Regions from separate parts of the Homo sapiens genome. Here region 2 is linked to region 1. Evidence: promoter capture Hi-C in human tissues and cell types (Jung and others, 2019). All regions are on one chromosome and are shown on one strand. The core of a region is centred on a gene start or on the middle of the fragment in contact, and the rest is flanking DNA. Distances in the headings are between cores, read along the strand shown. Region 1 holds the start of PLIN1 (perilipin 1). Region 2 holds the start of LOC124903552 (a long non-coding RNA gene).

Evidence for each region. Contacts are between HindIII fragments. The study calls those that stand out against the background at their distance.
Region 2: a fragment that was not itself captured here is called in contact with the fragment with the promoter of PLIN1 in region 1 in 2 of the 25 tissues and cell types used here (bladder and liver).

The regions. Positions count from the first base shown.
Region 1 is chr15:89,678,040-89,680,831 of GRCh38, reverse strand. It overlaps PLIN1 (perilipin 1), which reads left to right and starts at 1,465. Exons shown (of 9, transcript NM_002666.5): 1 at 1,465-1,581. The HindIII fragment of the contact is 12,360 bases long and covers 1-2,792 here.
Region 2 is chr15:89,834,035-89,836,817 of GRCh38, reverse strand. ARPIN-AP3S2 (ARPIN-AP3S2 readthrough) reads left to right here. Exons shown (of 10, transcript NM_001199058.2): 10 at 1,175-2,783. The coding sequence ends at 1,303. AP3S2 (adaptor related protein complex 3 subunit sigma 2) reads left to right here. Exons shown (of 6, transcript NM_005829.5): 6 at 1,175-2,783. The coding sequence ends at 1,303. LOC124903552 (a long non-coding RNA gene) reads right to left here and starts at 909. Exons shown (of 2, transcript XR_007064754.1): 1 at 1-909. The HindIII fragment of the contact is 6,289 bases long and covers 1-2,783 here.

The sequences.
Region 1 (2,792 bases), core at 216-2,715:
GCTACTGCTAGAAAACTAACACTTCTGTCTTCCCTCGGGACTCTCCTAGGCCCTTTCACCACTTCTCACCTCTCACCCACATTCTGCACTCCCAGCTAAAGCAGCCAAAGGACTATTTGATTTGGCAGAGCTTTCAGGCACAAAGCCCTATGTTCCCTCTGGCCCAAAGCCACTACTCTGAAGGCTGAAAACTGCCCTTTGGCTCAGGTTGCTGTCCAGTCACAGCCTCACAGATAATTTGTGCTGAACCTTGAGGTGAGGGCAGAGGCCACTTCTTTAAATACTTTGTCTTCTCTACTGCCTTACATTTGAAAAGCACAGGTTGGATCAATAAGTATTAAACGTATAGCGTATTACTCCTTTGAAGCCTCCCTGCTTGACTCCTCCCTTTCCTGCCTTCTCATTCCCTACTTTATTGCATCACAGATACGTAATTTATTACCAAGGATCTTTCATAATTCCCCACCCCTGCCTCTTTCTTCTCTTGCCCACACTGTGTGACTTAACAGAGTCAACAATACATATAATTCCACCAGCAACAAAGAAAATAAGTTTTGTTTTCCTATTGTCTGTTTTCATGAAGAGGCCCTTCTTAGTTAATCTGAAAGCTATGGCTTATACCATAGTCCTCCATCATATCTAAAGCCAGGAACTAGAACTTGGGCTTGTGCTTGAGTCCTGGGTAAAGAAGGGTTGAGTGGTGCTAATTCTTGGCTGTCTGGGTGCTCTTGATTAGTGATAGAATCCTAGTCAACACTGTCGCTTATCCAGACCCAGGAGAATAAAAATCTACTTGGCTCTCCTACTCTTCATTCTGGTAGCATCTTAGGCCAGGTAAAGTTCAATAAATTTTTTTGAATTCTAAGAAGTGGGAATTCCTCCCTCAACTCAAAGGCTATATTGTCAAAAACTCAACTCCCGGCTCTGTCGCTTCTTCACTGAGGGCAATTTATCTCCATAATCAAAGATGAATACATTCAGATGAACTCTTCTGTGTGGGTTTAAATTTTACTGTTCAGCATTCAGTCTTGCTAGTAAATAAGAAAAGATGAGAGAAATGGATTGAAAACTCCCACAAGACCCTCTATGGAAAAGGAGCCAAAAGATTGCAGAGGTATATAGAACTTTAGAGCTTTTGAGTTTAATGATGTCTATCCCTATACCTTCTTTCTGGAAAGCAGATTTTTGTGAATTGAGGGCAGGAACATTACAGAACTGATGCTTCATGGCTCTGGAATACTAAGTCCTCTGAGCCTGGATCTCCTTCAGCTCTGCCACCTACCTCCTTGTTTGCTAAATGTCCTTAGAGAAGTTAGGATATGCCTGGGGAACCCTGGGTCATATAACCATGACAACTGGCTGACCCTGTTGTCTCTCCCTCTCTGCCCTCCTCTAGCTGGGAGGTGGAAGCAGCATTGCCCAAGCCTCCCAGGAGTGACAGGAATTGTTTCTGCCTGAGGAGACACTCTGCAGCCTGGGCTCTGTGAGACTGAGGTGGCGGTCAGCCGGAGTGAGTGTTGGGGTCCTGGGGCACCTGCCTTACATGGCTTGTTTATGAACATTAAAGGGAAGAAGTTGAAGGTAAGGGCCTCTTGGGGATTTTGCTGGGGATGAAAAACTCTGCAGGGAAACTACTGAGGGAGAGATTCTGGTATAGATACCAGAATCTAGAAATAGAGGAATTGGATAGGCACAGTGGATCATGCCTTTAATCCCAGCACTGCAGGTGGCCAAGGCAGGTGGATCACTTGAGCCCAGGAGTTCAAGAACAACCTGGGCAACACAGTGGGATCCTGTCTCTATAAAAAAAGAGAAAAAATTAGCCCTGCATTGTGGTGCATGCCTGTAGTCCCAGCTACATGAGAGGCTGAGGTGGGAGGGTACCTTGATCCCAGGAGGTCAAGGCTGCATTGAGCCATGATCGTGCCACCACATTCCATCCTGGGCAACAGATTGAGACCCTGTCTCAAAAAACAGATAGGGAGAGGGGGAGAGGGACAGACAGAGAGAAAGAGAGAAATAGAGGAATTAACCCAGAGCCTTTTCAAAGATGAAACCTTTAACTTGTTTATTTATTTTTTTAGAGATGGGCATCTCACTGTATTGCCGAGGCTGATCTCAAACTCCTGGGCTCAAGCAATTCTCCCATGTCAGCCTCAGTAGCTGGGATTACAGGTGCTTGCCAGTGCACCCAGCTTGAAACTTCTTGTTTTAGTCTCTTTTGGACCCTCATTTAAGAGCCTTAAGATTTTATCTAAAACTTTTTATCTCTTATGGCTACCTGCATTTTTTATTTCCTAACCTGAACTCCTTTTTTTTTTTGAGACAGAGTCTCCCTCTGTCACCCAGGCTGGAGTGCAGTGGCAGGATCTCAGCTCACTGCAACCTCCACCTCTCAGGCTCAAGCGATCCTCCTGCCTCAGCCTCCCAAGTAGCTGGGATTACAGCTGCCCACCACCACGTCTGGCTAATTTTTGTATTTTTAGCAGAGACGGAGTTTCACCATGTTGCCCAGGCTGGTCTTGAACTCCTGAACTCAGGTGATCTGCCTGCCTTGGACTCCCAAAGTGCCGGGATTACAGGCCTGAGCCACCGCGCCTGGCCTCTTAACCTGAACTCTTATAGGAAACATTATTCTTGGCCGGGCATGGTGGCTCTTGCCTGTAATCACAGCACTTTGGGAGGCCAAGGTGGGCAGATCACTTGAGGCCAGGAGTTCGAGACCAGCCTGGCCAACATGATGAAACCCCATCTCTACTAAAAATACAAAAATTAGCCAGTGTGGTGGTTCA
Region 2 (2,783 bases), core at 204-2,703, 160 kb before region 1:
CTATTGGTGGCAGCTATAGTTCTTTTAGAAATGTAGGCTGGGAAGATTCCAGGAATAGTAAGTGAGTCAGAGGCAAGGGGGTTGGAAATGAGAAGAAATGGAGACTTGCTGGGTGAGGGCAGAAGCAGAGTTGGTATCCGGAAAGAAGGCAATAGGGGAAAAATGATTGTGAGAGAGTTTTCATCCACTTTTGCCGTTCCCTCCACGTGGGGGTGAGCCTGCCAGGTGGGGGTTCACTGTAGATGTGCATACTCTTTGCGTTTTGTCACCAGCTCTTCTTTATCTGTGATACCCCCCACCTTCTCCCAGCTTGTTGCCACATGACACTTCCAAAGCCAGCTCTTTTCATCTCACATTATTAGTTGGCAAGCAGTTGCCCTAGAGCTGTGACTGTCCTTTTCCTTTTAAGAACTTCCCGGTGACTTTGCACGTTTCAATAAGAGTCTTTGGTCTCTTGAGGAAAGGGTTTTGTTTTGTTTTGTAACCAGAAAAGTGCCCCTGACAAATCACCTTAGATTATTTCAGCATTTATTGGGTACCCACCATGTGCCAGGTACTGTGAGAGGCTGGGGCTGTGAAACTGTATAGGCCACACTCCGCCTCTGAGGAGCTGGTAGTCTAGTAGGACTGCAGGCTTTGGATCCCTGTGCCAAACCCCATCTAACCTCAAGATTGTTTTGTTGGCTACTTTTGAGGAATAAGGGGGGAAAGTTAAAACTTCAGTTGTGTGTGCTCAGTTTGGAATTTTTCTAGGCATCCTTCACCTGTTATTTTGTTTGTTTGTTTGTTTGAGACAGAGTCTCACTCTGTTGCCCAGGTTGGAGTGCAGTGGCGTGATCTCAGCTCACCGCAACCTCCGCCTTCTGAGTTCAAGCGATTTTCCTGCCTCAGCCTCCCTAGTAGCTGGGACTACAGGGGCCCGCCACCACTCCTGGCCAATTTTTGTATTTTTGGTAGAGATGGGGTTTCACCATGTTGGCCAGGCCTATCTCGAACTCCTGACCTCAGGTGATCCACCCACCTCGGCCTCCCAAAGTGCTGGGATTACAGGCGTGAGCCACCACACCCATCCTGCTTGTTTGTTTTTGTTTTTGCTTTTTTTTTTTTTTTTTTTTTAGCATTAAGCAGATAACAGTGAGAATTTGTCTCATACTCGCCTCTCATTTCTTCTTAGGGTGGCCTTTCAGCAGCCCCTGCGCGGGCTGTGTCTGCTGTGAAAAACATCAACCTGCCAGAGATTCCTCGGAACATCAACATTGGCGATCTCAACATCAAAGTTCCCAACCTGTCCCAGTTTGTCTGAGGATCAAGTATTGGCCTGAAATAGAGTCCTTAAGACAAGCAAAGACAAGCAAGGCAAGCACGTCTGGAAACAGAACCCATTTTGAGCCTTAGAAGAGTCAAGCCTCAGGACCTGGAAACTTTGTGTCTGGGGAAGACTGTTTGGCATGGAATAGGGAAGGGATTCCTATTGACACTGCTCGGGTGCACCCAGTTCTCACATGTGCAGTCATGCCGTTCTCTGATGCATACGGCCACTGCAGATGTGAGGGGCCCTGCCTTCCTCAGTAGGGAGTCAACATGCCCAAGTCATTTGCACCTTTACCTCTCACATGGATGCTCCCAAGGGTTAGGGACTGCATTGAGCAGGCCCACCTGCTTCCCAGAACCTCCTCACTAGGGCTGAGCACCTTCTCTGAGTAGAGTCTTCATCCTTAGCACCACAGACTTCTGAGGTCCTGTGCCCTTTACTTGCTGGTGAGGTGTCATAGGTAGAAAAGGGCTGGCCCTTCAGATCTGGGGGTGTGGTGAGTGGCAAGTAAGGGCAGAATTTTAGGAGAACCAGAGTCACCCGCTGGCTCTACTGAGATTGTTACACCCAGAATCCTTTTGTGTTTTTTTGTGGTTTTTTTTTTTTGAGGTGGAGTCTTGCTCTGTCACCCAGGCTGGAGTGCTGTGGTGCAATCTCGGCTCACTGCAACCTCTGCTTCCCGGGTTCAAGCATTTCTCCTGTCTCAGCCTCCCCAGTAGCTGGGATTACAGGCACCCACCACCATGCCCAGCTAATTGTTGTATGTTTAGTAGAGACAGGGTTTCACCATGTTGGCCAGGCTGGGCTCGAACTCCTGGACCTCAAGTGATCTACCCGCCTTGGCCTCCCAAAGTGCTGGCATTACAGGTGTGAGCCACCGTGCCCGGCCACCAGAATCCTTTGGTATAGCCAAGCCTTTTGGTTACCGCCTCATGAAGAATATGCTTCCCGCATTGTCCTAGTCCCAGTTGTATTCTCACAGGTGTTATGTGCAGGACACAATCCAAATCATAAACCTGGCTCATGCCCAACACATTTCTGCTAATAGGGAGAGGGACCCACCACACACCCACACATGCCAGAGGTCCCTCCTCACAGAGGAGAGGGCCTGTGTCTGTAGAAGGTTAAAGCTGACAACATGTGAAACATCCCAGAATTATGACTCTTCCCAAGTTTAAAATACATTCTCCTCATGAGAGCAGAAGGTTTGTTGCTGTGTTGTGAATGATGAGCTGCCTCCATAGGGAACCCACTGCCACCTGGGCCAGCTTCTGGAGCATGAGAACCTGAGCCAGGGTCACCCTTGTGGGGCCTGGACATGACGCACGCTGGCTGCGACTAGGAGCAGGGCTGCCTCTTCTCCCTCCCCAAGGTCTGCTTGTGGGCACGCTCTGTTCCCTCAGGTGCCATTCTCCCAGGGCTTAGGCGCCCATAAATGTTCTTTCTGTGGTGGAGTAGGGCCTCCTGCTTC